Regions from separate parts of the Homo sapiens genome. Here regions 2 and 3 are each linked to region 1. The links are contacts of gene promoters, found by promoter capture Hi-C in blood cells and fetal thymus (Javierre and others, 2016). All regions are on one chromosome and are shown on one strand. Each heading gives the region's core, a stretch centred on a gene start or on the middle of the fragment in contact. The rest is flanking DNA. Distances are from core to core; before and after follow the strand shown.

What was found. The method cuts DNA at HindIII sites, captures the fragments that hold promoters and counts their contacts. A CHiCAGO score of 5 or more calls a contact.
Region 2: a contact is called between the fragment with the promoter of RASAL1 here and the fragment with the promoter of OAS3 in region 1, in 12 of 17 cell types (total B cells, naive CD8 T cells, activated CD4 T cells and 9 more). The highest score is 14.2, in total B cells.
Region 3: a fragment that was not itself captured here is called in contact with the fragment with the promoter of OAS3 in region 1 in 2 of 17 cell types (M0 macrophages and M1 macrophages); the score reaches 5.2 in M0 macrophages.

The regions. Positions count from the first base shown.
Region 1 is chr12:112,936,775-112,940,682 of GRCh38, reverse strand. OAS3 (2'-5'-oligoadenylate synthetase 3) reads right to left here and starts at 2,209. Exons shown (of 16, transcript NM_006187.4): 1 at 1,976-2,209. The coding sequence starts at 2,152. RefSeq lists enhancers at 323-492, 1,491-1,660, 2,084-2,253, 2,217-2,526, 2,421-2,590 and a silencer at 1,907-1,996. The HindIII fragment of the contact is 11,275 bases long and covers 138-3,908 here.
Region 2 is chr12:113,133,588-113,137,258 of GRCh38, reverse strand. It overlaps RASAL1 (RAS protein activator like 1), which reads left to right and starts at 1,498. Exons shown (of 21, transcript NM_001301202.2): 1 at 1,498-1,861. The coding sequence starts at 1,797. RefSeq lists a silencer at 1,372-1,511. The HindIII fragment of the contact is 4,772 bases long and covers 1-3,671 here.
Region 3 is chr12:113,167,959-113,171,738 of GRCh38, reverse strand. DDX54 (DEAD-box helicase 54) reads left to right here. Exons shown (of 20, transcript NM_024072.4): 12 at 1,835-1,969. Among named protein-coding and RNA genes, the nearest start is that of MIR7106, 11 kb to the right of the region's middle. The HindIII fragment of the contact is 648 bases long and covers 1,167-1,814 here.

The sequences.
Region 1 (3,908 bases), core at 960-3,459:
AAAAACTCAAGACCGCAGGTAAAACAAATTCTGCTTTGCAGAACACACATTTGCAATCTTTGCTCAGAATGGGTACAGAACTGTGGTATGACTCAATTTCTGAGACCTGTGTGATTAGTGTTTCTTTCGGCAAAGCTTCCAACCTGAGGATTTGGAAAAGAAACTCCTAAACATTGTCAGAGCCACTGTTCTGTGTCTGGGATCTGACGTCTCTAATCTCACTTCCAACACAAAACAACTGTGATGTAGTTACATGTGGCTGCAGATATGGGGAGTGAGGCTCAGATGGTGAAATGAGTTACACAGCCAGTAAACAGCAAGAACCAGGATGGAGCCCTCCAGGAGCAAGGCTTGCCTCAAACTGGGACCCCCTACTTATCCCGATGATTATGCCAGTCCTTTTACTACCAGCTCCCACCATCTGGGGGCTGCTGACAAAGTGGGAACAGGGAATATTACAGGCTGGGCACTTCCTGCACGTTTTGCACACTCTCATCTCATTGAACCTTCCTCACAGCCCCAGAAGGAAGGTACCACTTTACAAAAGAGGAAACGAAAGCACAGGGAGATTGCACCGTGCTCACTTTACAAAGGAGACAATGAAAGCACAGGGAGATTGTGCTCCAGAACCCCCTCCCACCCCTTTCCAGGGAAGCTAAGGATGCCAGGGCTTTCCCTTGCTGCACAGAAATCCCTCCTGTCCATCTCCAAGGTAGAAACGGGACTTCACACCTCCTAGGCGACAAGTGTCTCCTCCTTCCCCACCTCCCAAGCTGAGAGTCAGCCCCAGGAAACCACTAGGTGCTCTGAGGCCATTTCTACTCTGCGTTTTCACTCCCTCTCCTGACAACCTCCTCTAGCACACCCAGGTTCCCTCCATCAATCCACTCCTGGCACCCCCAAATCTACCCTGAGGATAAGGTAGCTCATGACTTGTCTCCTCCCTGAATCTGCGAGTGTCCTGGGATCACAGTGGCAGTGTGGCTGTATTTAAGTGACAAAAAGTGACCCGGAGCCTGGGCAACATGGTGAAATCCCGTCTCTACAAAAAATGCAAAAATTACCTGGGCATGGTGGCTCACACCTGTAATCCCAGCACTTTGAAAGGCCAAGGCAAGTGGATCACTTGAGCCCAGGAGTTCCAGGCCAGCCTGGGCAACACGGCAAAACTCTATCTCTACAAAAAATGCAAATAATTAGCCAGGCATGGTAGTGTGCACCTGTAGTGCCAGCTACTTGGGAGGCTGAGGTGTGAGAATAACTTGAGCCCAGGAGGCGGAGGTTGCTGTGAGCCAAGATCATGCTACTGCACTCCAGCCTGGGTGACAGAGCGAGACCCTGTCTCAAAAAAAAAAAAAAAAAAAAAAAAAAAAAAAGATGTGACTCAGAGTAGTAATTTAGCGTCTAGCCTCAGTTTCCCTATCCATAAAACAGGTACAATAATACCTGCCTCACTGAACGTGGGGATGAAATGAGGTAATACTCATTTAATGAGATAATTTTCATTGTTATTTGATAATGTCTCAATAAATTGGGCTACTCTGGCTGTTACGCGGAGTGTTATTACTTCTGTAACCTTAAGGTCTGGCATAGTGTGAGGCCCACAGTCTGTTTGAATGACTGGGAGAATGAGTGAATGAGTGAATGAATGGATAAGAAGCAGCCTCTGAGAGTAGAGATGCAGGAATCAGGCTACTTGGATTTGAATCCTGGCTGGGCCTCTTACAGGATCGGACACGTCACTGTACCTCTCTGTGCCTCATTTTCTCTATCTGTCAAGCGGGCTTAAGAGTACCTACCTGGCTCGTATGTTCGGGGGAGTTAGCACGGGGCTGGCACATTGGAAGTATTTGTTAAAGAAATGAATGAGGTGCACAAGCGGATAAAGCCACCCCCACCGTAAGCCTATGTGAGGCTTAAGCGTCCTCCCAGGACTCCCCTTTGGACACATAAAGACCCCGAGGTGGGACCTCACCTTGACAGTTTTCAGCACCCGCGGGGCAGCAGCACCGAGGCGGCCCCCGCGCTCCCTCAGGGCAGCGGCCAGGGCGCCCAGAGCGCGCCGCGCCTTCTCTACGAACTCCTTCCGCGGCTGCAGCCTTCTGGCCACGAACCTGTCCAGCGCAGCGGCCGGGGTGCTGTACAAGTCCATGGCCGCCCGGCGCAGGTGCAAGGGGAAGCAGGGCTCTGGCGCGGCCTTCGGATTTCTGGTTTCGTTTTCCCGCCCGGCTCTCCGAACCACGCCCAGCTGGCCAGGTCCTAGGTCCTCGGTCCCGCGCGTGGCGTGAAACGGGGAGGGGCGCTGCAGTTCCTGTCTTCCCCAAACTTGGGAAATTCCCTGCTTTCAGTTTCGTTTCTTTCTAGCAGCTCTTGGACCTGACACCCACTTCCTGGTCCCCTTCCCAGCTACGACTTCCTCTCCTTCATCTCCTTGCTTCCAGCCGTCCCTGCAACCACCAGCTCCAACGAACTAATCACAACCTAACAAAGTATACCCACAGAACATATGGGTACATACTGAGTAACGTACTCTGAGCATTTCAGAAACGTGCAGGTTTTACATGGAAAAAAAAGGTCAGGATTTAATAAACGGAGAAGTCCTACCTCGCTGTCTGACTGAGGGATGCGTTCTAAACACCACTACCACCACCAACGATAATAAAGCACACTTGGAGACTCTCACTGACTCCTCCCAACGACCATGGTGTAGGTGCTATTATCATCACCCATTTGACAGATGAGGAAGTCAAGGTACAGAGGAACTAGGTAACTGTCCAAGGTAACACAGCTGGAAAGTTGTCTGGCTGGATTCAAACCCAGCCCAAGCCCACAGAGCTGCCCTCTTCAGAAGCCAACTCTTCCTAAATAATTTATACGTGTAATGCAGTTCCAATAAAAATTCCATCTTTAAAAACTTCAAACACACGATCTAAAGTCTGTCTGCAAGAATTAAAAATTATTTTGGAGGAGAAGGAGGAAGGAAAGTCAGTCAGTTTAGGATGGTACCTTGCACAACAATACTACATATTAAAACATTGTAAAGCTACAATAGGGAAATCCTCTTGGAATGGGCACAAAGCTAAGCGGACTGTAAGCTATAAGCTGCAGAGTGGAGATTTGAATCCAGGACCATTGCGCTTCTATCTTCATGGCCTGTCTCCTTTTTCTGCTTATTTCCTGCTGCTTCTCCACCCGGGTTCCTAGAGACTGCACACCTGAGCTCTCTTCCAGGCCTGGTCCAAGCCATAGCCTATCTCCTCCTCCCCATCTTACTAAAAAACTCCCAGGTCCTCTCTCCTGTCTGCTCCGGGACCCAGCATTTACTCTGCCTCTGAGTACACTTCAGGTAATAGTCTTAACAAGTGCTTCCTGACATCTGCACGGTAACTGAAAGGAAATAGATAGGATCAGAGTGTGAATTTCAGAGGTCATGGTCAACTAGAGGGAGAGATGCTGGGTCTGTAATATGTACACCAGCTAATATTTTGAGTAGTGAATGCTGCATCACTTGGAATATTCAAGTATGGGCAGGTTTTGTAGGTCAGGTGTTGTGGTGGGGATTTAAGTCAAGGGATTGAGCAATGATTTTCATTCTCGCCCATTAATCACAGTCTTCTTCCTGAGTCACAGGCCACTTTAGAAACTTTCCATTCAAGATAGTGGATTGAACACATGCTCAAAATTCTATTAAAATAGCAGCAAAGATATATTAAAAGCATAATGGAAATCAACAGGGTTGGAAACTGAGAAAAAGTGGAGTCAAGGGGGCGGGACATTTGAGGCATTTTTAGAAGATGGAACGCAGAAGGGTCAATATTGGGTCATGATGGTGGACTGAACATATGCATAAGCCTTCAACGTCCATCCCAGGCCTCTAGAGGTGGCAGGAAAGCGATAGAAAAACTTTA
Region 2 (3,671 bases), core at 249-2,748, 200 kb before region 1:
ATTAACTGAGACCCCATCTCTGGTGGGTCAGAGACTCACCAGGCAGCCACCAGCTGGGGAAGGAATTCCAGGGCTCTGAGTTCCTCATCAGCCTGTCTGGGTTGCTGGGTGGGGAGTCAAGAAGGGAGACTGGGAAGCAGACCATTGGGCTGCTGACGGATCCAGGAAGGGCACTCCTGGTCTCACCGGTCTGGGCGTTGGCTCCCGCACTCAGTCTGCAGGGGCACTCCCATTGGTGCCTGGCCTTTCTAAGAGGTCTTGGGCAGGTCAACAATGAATTCACAGGGAGAAATAAGTGTGCGAACGGATCTGTTCTGGGACAGGCCCTGCCTGTCATATTATCTCATTTAAAATCAGAAAAATGTACAAACCTGGAGCCACTGGAGCAGAGAGAAAGGAAAGAAAATCTCTACCGGAGTGGAAGGGCATCCTGGAAGCCTTCCCAGGAGAGGTGACGCGTGGCCCACGCCTCAAAGGACAACAATCAGAATATCAAACACTTTCTGGACGTGTATTAGGTACTTGTCACTGTCCTGAGACTTTTATCTTCATTAACTCTTTTAATTCTTTCAAAATCCTGTGACTGAAATGCAATGTCATCCTCACTCAACAGATGAGAAAACCAAACCAAAGCACAGAGAGGTTGAATGGCTTACCCAAGTCCAGACAGCTACCAAATGGCAGAGCCAGGATTCGAACCCCTGGAAGGCAAATCAGTTACTGACTGTGAGACCTCTGCCAAGTTATTTAATCCCTCTGAACCTCAGTTTCTTTATCCATAAACTGCGGATAATGGGGTAACAGTGGAGTAGTGTGTAGTGCACATCTGGAGACAAAAATGAGCTAATCCCAGTAAAGCGCTTAGAACAGTGCCTGGCACCCATGAAGTGTTCAAACAACTGTAGATGACTTTTTATCATCGCTGTAGTGGTTATCTTCAAGCCTTCCCCTCCCCCATCTGGCCGCGGCTTCCTCCCCCGCAGTGCCAGCCCGTGACGTTAGAGCAGAGTCTGGGTTCTGTGTTTAACTGGAAACTAGAACGAGATGGAAGGGGATGTTCAAGGCCCCTCCCTTGACTCTGAACGGACCCCCAGGGAACATGCGACCCTCTCTCTGGCGACGCCTCCCACCCACCACTAATACTTGCTCCTGGACCGGGGGGCGCGGAGGTTGGAGAGAGGAGGCAGGTGTCTGCATGGTAGGCAAGGAGGGGTGGGGGCGGAGAGGTGTGAATATGTTGGATGAGGGACAGGCGGGGGCACAGACCATGTCTTTTAAGCCCAATGCCAACTCACCAGGAGCCAGCGGCCACGCCCATCAGGACGGGGGCCCCTCCCCACCTGGCGGTGCACCCTTGTCTCCGCCGCCCGTGCGCTCTGGCGCGCATGACTGGGGTGCCGGTAGAGGGCGCGCGAGGGGGCCCGGGGTCAGGTGGGGGACCCCATTGGAGGCGGGATTGTGGGGAGGTCCCTGGGCCGCCCCTCCCGCCCCCTGCCCGCCCAGCCTGCTTGTCTGGAGCTCCAGACGCCTCGGCAAGAGCCCGCTGCGCCCCCTGCGCGCTCCTCCTGCTCGGAGCACGGCTCCTACCTGTAGAGTCCGGACGGGCGCTCCCTCCCCGGGCACCTACACCTTCTCCTCTTTCGGAAATCTCCCATCCAGCTACCCGGGTCTCGGACAGGCGGCACTGGGACCACGAGGCAGGGAGCCAGGCTTGAAGCAGGTGACATGTAGACGTCCCCTGGTCCAGCCTCGGAACCTGAGCGCCCTTCTGCCTGGAAAGTTTGTGGCTAGGCGCCATGGCCAAGAGCAGCTCCCTGAATGTTCGCGTGGTGGAGGGCCGCGCGCTGCCTGCCAAGGACGTGTGAGTACTCCTCGGGCGCTTCTGGGTGAGGGGCGCGCAAGGCCTGGGGTGGGGCCGACGTCGCCCTTTCCGCGTGCCAGGGCGGGTTGGCAGGAGGGCGAGGGGTTCTTGTCCAAGACTGGTCTTGGGGCAGTTCCGCTTTAAAGGGGCGAGAGGCCGCATGCCCATGGCTGTCCCGGTGGGAGGGGGGCGCCTAGAGTTAGCAGATGCCCCGCCTCACCCCCGGGCAGGGGAGGGGGTGTCTTTGTTCCCGGGATGTACTAAAGGGGGTCGTCCAGAGCTGAAGAGGGGATTAGAGGGCCATATTCTGTCAGATCTGGGAGGGGAGAAAGCGGGGGGTCTCTTCCTTAGTCCAGGCAGATGTTGGAGGTGGCTCCTCCAGGCGTGGGTGGGGGCCTAGCAAGGGAACCCTGGGGAGGACCCTTGGAGAGGGCCTGGGATCAGATGAGCCCTAACATCCTGTGTGGATCTGGTGCTTAGGTTTGCAGAGTGTCACCAGGTGGCCCTCCAGGGTCCTTTTGACCCCAAGCCCTGAGCTCCCCAGTCTTGTGGCTCCCAGCCTCGTGTGGGCCTTCCCCGGGTGCTGAGCTGCTTGAAGAGCCAATTCCTTGCTGCGACCCCCTCCCCAGCCAGGTGCAATGGGACTGGGGGACCCTACGGCTCCCTTCACTACTAGTCCCAAGCTATGCTTCCCCCAGGGCTGAGTCAGCAGCTGCTGAATCAGCAGAATATGGGGGGCGGGTTCCCCCTCCTGCTTGGCATAGTGCCCAGAAGGGGCTCTGAGGGCCTTAGCACCTGCGACAGGTGTGGGATCCTCTGGAGGACATTTGTTGTGTGACCTTGAACCTGCTTCTCTCTGGGCCTTGGTTTCCCATTTGGGCAATGAGAGCTCTGGACCGGAGTCCCCATCTGGTTGCCTGGGGTCTCCCATCCAGCTGGGAGGGTGGAGGACCTGTTAGGAGTTCCCCTGTGGCCCAGGTGAGCAGGAGCATGGATTGGGAGCCTTCACCTGTGTCAAGATTCAGTCTTAGCTCTGTGCTGATTCCCCAAGGTGTGGGCTCCCAGAGAGGACTTTCCTGCCTGATTTTATGACATTCCCAACCCCCAAAACACTGCAGCTGCGTCAAGGGGGCAGCTGTTGAGAGCAATTTTTGCCACCCTTCATCCTCATTGGCTACTCCAAATATACACACCCTGAATGAGAAGCAGAGTGTGTGCTCTGACAGTTCAGTGGCTGGACAAGCCCCCCCACCAGACTCTTTCTAAGATGTCCCCTCAGAGGCCCTGGGAATGAGACGGCCTACACTGTTAGGGCATTGAGGCCAGGCTGGATGCCTGGCAGCTGCTAGGTGGTGAAAGGAGTTCTTTCCAGAAACGGGGTTCTCACTCACTGAGCTCTGGCCCCTCCACCAGCCCTGGGTGAGAGGTCATGAGGGGGCGATGGGTGTCACCCCTGCACCTGGACACTGGCTTACGGTAACCTGCTGCTCTTCTGGAGAAGGGACTTGAGTCATGCCTGGTTCCTGCAGCTCTTGGCCAAACTTCCTGCCCCCAATTCCTGGGCCAGTGAGCTATGAAATAGGTCATGCCCTAGAGCAAGGGTGGGGAGGAGTCACTTAGCCCCAGCTGGCAGGGGGGGTTCTGGCCACCCTGCCTCAGTTTCCCTAGCTGTCAGCACCCTTCTTCAAAGGGGCTCTTCCTGGAGGCTGCTGGGAGCTCCATGCCATGGGAGCCCTTAGGTGGGGTGTGTTCTTTCCCTCTTCTCCTAAGGGAAAGGGCCCAGATTCTGCCTAAAGCATTGCCAGGTTTG
Region 3 (3,780 bases), core at 241-2,740, 230 kb before region 1:
TTTTAAGTTGTGGTAAAGTAGACATAGCATGCAATTCAGCATTTTGCCATTTCCCAGTGTGCAGTGGAGTGGCATTGAGTCTGTTCCCATTGTGCAACTGTCACCACCATCTGTCCCCAAAACTTTTTTTTTTTTTTTTGAGAGTCTTGCTTTGTACCCCAGGCTGGAGTGCAGGGGTGTGATCTCGGCTCACTGCAACCTTCACCTCCCAGGTTCTAGCTATTCTCTTGCATCAGCCTCCCGAGTAGCTGGGATTACAGGTGCTCGCCACCAGGCCCAGCTAATTTTTTGTGTTTTTAGTAGAGACAGGGGTTTCACCATGTTGGCCAAGGTGGTCTTGAACTCCTAACCTCAAGTGATGCATCTGCCTCAGCCTCCCAAAGTGCTGTGATTACAGGCGTGAGCCACCATGCTTGGCCCCAGAACTTTTCCATCTTGCAAAATTGAAGCTCTATCCGTCAGACAAAATCTCCTTATTCCCCTCCCGCAGCCCCTGGTAACTGTTATTCTACTTTCTTTGCCTTCTTTTAATTCATAAGTGTCATGTGGTGGGTGCACTTCCCCCTTGTTGCTGTCTGCTGTCCCCTAGTTTCTGTTGCTGTGTGGAGAGCTGGTTCTGCATGTCCCTAGGGAGGTCCCCAGGACGCCCCCAAAGGGAATTTCTTGTGCCTCACAAGACCAACAGTGCCGGTCAGACAACCTCAAATGAAATCTCCAAATGTCATAACACCTTGTTTTCCCAAGATACAGAGACAAACCAAAATATAATGCTATGTAGTGATTTAGGTACTTCATGCAAAATTGCAATCATATTGGGTGTTCTTTTTTATAACTGGCTTTTTGTTTTTTTCTTTTTACATCACCATACATCACGAATGTTTTTCGTTTACTATGAAATGTCATTCTGTGATGGGTTGGCACATCTTTTCTGTAAGGGGCTAGACATGAAACGTTAGGCTTTGTGGACCATACTGTCTCTGTCATAACTGTTCATCTCTGCTGCTGTCGTGTGACTGCTGCCTATTCATTTATATAGATAATATATAAACAAATGAGTGTGGCTGTGTTCCAATAAATCTTTATTTACACAGACAAGCAGGGGGCCGGGATCTCACTCTGTTGCTTGGGCTCTAGTGCTGTGGCATGATCATAGCTCACTGTAAGCTTGAACTCCCAGATTCAAGCAATCCTCCCAGCTCAGCCTCCCAAGTACTTAGGGCTACAGGCACACACCATCACATCTGGCTAATTTTCGTTTTTTGTAGACATGGGGTCTTGCTATTTTGCCCAGGCTGTTCTCGAACTCCTGGCCTCAAGTGATTCTCCCACCTCAGCCCCTCAAAGTGCTGTGATTACAGGCGTGAGCCACCAGCCTGGCCCTGTAGGCTGCAGTTTGCCCACTCTTTTCCTGAGCTGTTTAATTCCCACTGTGTGGCCATCAGCTAATTCACTTATCTAGTCCTCTACCCTTGAGACTTTAGTTTCCAACTTGGGGCTGTCCTAGTCAGGGCCACACTAAACCTCCTTGTGTGTGAATCTTTACATCTTTGCGGGGAATTCTCAAAAGTGGGGACACTGAAGAGTTTTGATCATGCTCATGAGCAGGGCCTTGCTGTATTTTTGCTAGTCTCCCAGAGCACTGTGTCAGCTTGGGCACACTCTCACAGATCAACCTAGGGACCGGGATTAAACTTCCCTGTGCGTAGGTGGGGACAGCAGCCGTGTGAGGTTCGAGGCTTGGCCAGGCTCACCTGCTCAGGGTCTGGCCTGTGGAACTCATGCTGGGTCCGGGTCCTTCTTTGCTTAATTAAGCTTGAACGTCTCCTTGCTGCAGGCCGTGTGGCTCGGGCTGGCCGAAGTGGCACAGCCTACTCCTTGGTGGCCCCTGATGAAATCCCCTACCTGCTGGATCTGCACCTGTTCCTGGGCCGCTCCCTCACCCTCGCCCGACCCCTCAAGGAGCCCTCAGGTGAGTGGAGGCTGGGTGGGGATAGGGGTCCCCGTGGAGTTCATGGGCCCTGTTTTGGCTGTGGGAGGAGGTAGGGCTGGGTTTGACCCCAGCAGAAGATGATTCCTTTTATTTATTTTATTGTATTTTATTTGTTTTGTTTATTTTTTGAGACAGAGCCTCGCTCTGTTGCCCAGGCTGGGGTGCAGTGGTGTGATCTTGGCTCACAGCAACCTCTGCCTCCCAGGTTCAAGCCATTCTCTTGCCTCAGCCTCCCGAGTAGCTGGGACTATAGATGCCCGCCACCACGCCTGGCAAATTTTTTATTGTATTTTTAGTAGAGACAAGGTTTCACCATGTTGGCCAGGCTGATCTCGAACTCCTGACCTCAAGTGATTCGCCCACCTCCCAAAGTGCTGGGATTACAGGTGTGAGTCACTGCGCCCGGCTGATTCCTTCTATTTTTTAACGAGACGGGGTCTTACTCTTGCTCAGGCTGGAGTGCAGTGGTGCGATCATGGCTCGCTGCAACTTCCAACTCCTGGGCTCAAGCAAGCCACTATGCCTGGCTAATCCCTCTATTTTAAACTCAGGATTTCCCACAACAATCCAGATTTCTGGTATCTACTGGGAAACAGTTGGATCTGGGTGCTAAGCTGTGGCACCCCCATTAGACAGGCTTCCTGGTCCCCTGCAGCCCCTGCCTGCCTCCCCTTCCTGTCAGTGTGGCCTGCCCAGCCCCTGCAGGCATCTAGTGTGTGACCCTATACTTGATGAGTTTTCAGGGGAGCGCAGCGGAGGGAAAGAGAGGCTGAGGCTCATTCAGACCAAGCCCACAGGACATTTTTAATTTATTTATTGAGACAGAGTTTCGCTCTTGTTGCCCAGGCTGGAGTGCAGTGGTGCAATCTTGGCTCACCACAACCTCCGCATCCTGGGTTCAAGCGATTCTCCTGCCTCAGCCTCCCGAGTAGCTGGGACTGCAGGCACACACAACCACGCCCAGCTAATTTTGTATTTTTAGTAGAGACAGGGTTTCACCATGTTGGCCACGCTGGTCTTGAACTTCTGATCTCAGGTGATCTGCCCGCCTCGGCCTCCCAAAGTGCTGGAATTACAGGCGTGAGCCACTGTGCCCAGCCGCCCACAGGACATTTCTGTATACATCCTAGAATGGGAATGCATGGGACAGACAATAGCAATCACCATGGCCTCCATCTGTGGGCCTCCAACTATGGGCCTCCACCTGCAGTCCTGCTGGTTCCCGGGCCCTGGACACATCTTGTCTCATTTGTCCATCTGTGCTAGAGGGAGGGCTGTCATCACCTCTGCTTCACAGATGAGAGAACGGCTCTGACAGGCCTACCCGCATGCACACAGCAGGGAGGTGGGGAGCTGAGATTCAGGCCCCCCCAGAGGCCCAAGACTCAAGCTCAGAGAGCTGAGGCGGCTTCCTCCGGACAGCCTAGCCAGTGGTCAGCAGAGAGCGCAGCCCTCAGAGCTCCGGGCCCCCTCTGCCTCGGCTGTTCACTCTTGGCTGCCAGTGGTGGTCTCTGTCCAGGCCACGGCCCCCTCAGGTGACCATGTGGCCCTGCAGTGTCCCAGCCCATGCCTGGAGGCGGCTGGAAAGCAGACACCATAGCAGAAAGTCTGGGGTCAGATGCAAGGGCACAGGAAAGGGCTGCGGGGCCTGGCCGGGGTGGGGGGCGGCCTGTGCAGTCACTGGAGGTGGAGGCCTCAGTCGGGCGCCACGCAGGGGTGAATTGGAAGGGGCGCCTAAAGGGCATTTCAAAGCATTTTCCTGGGGGCAAAGCTGAGAGTGCAAGGGCCAA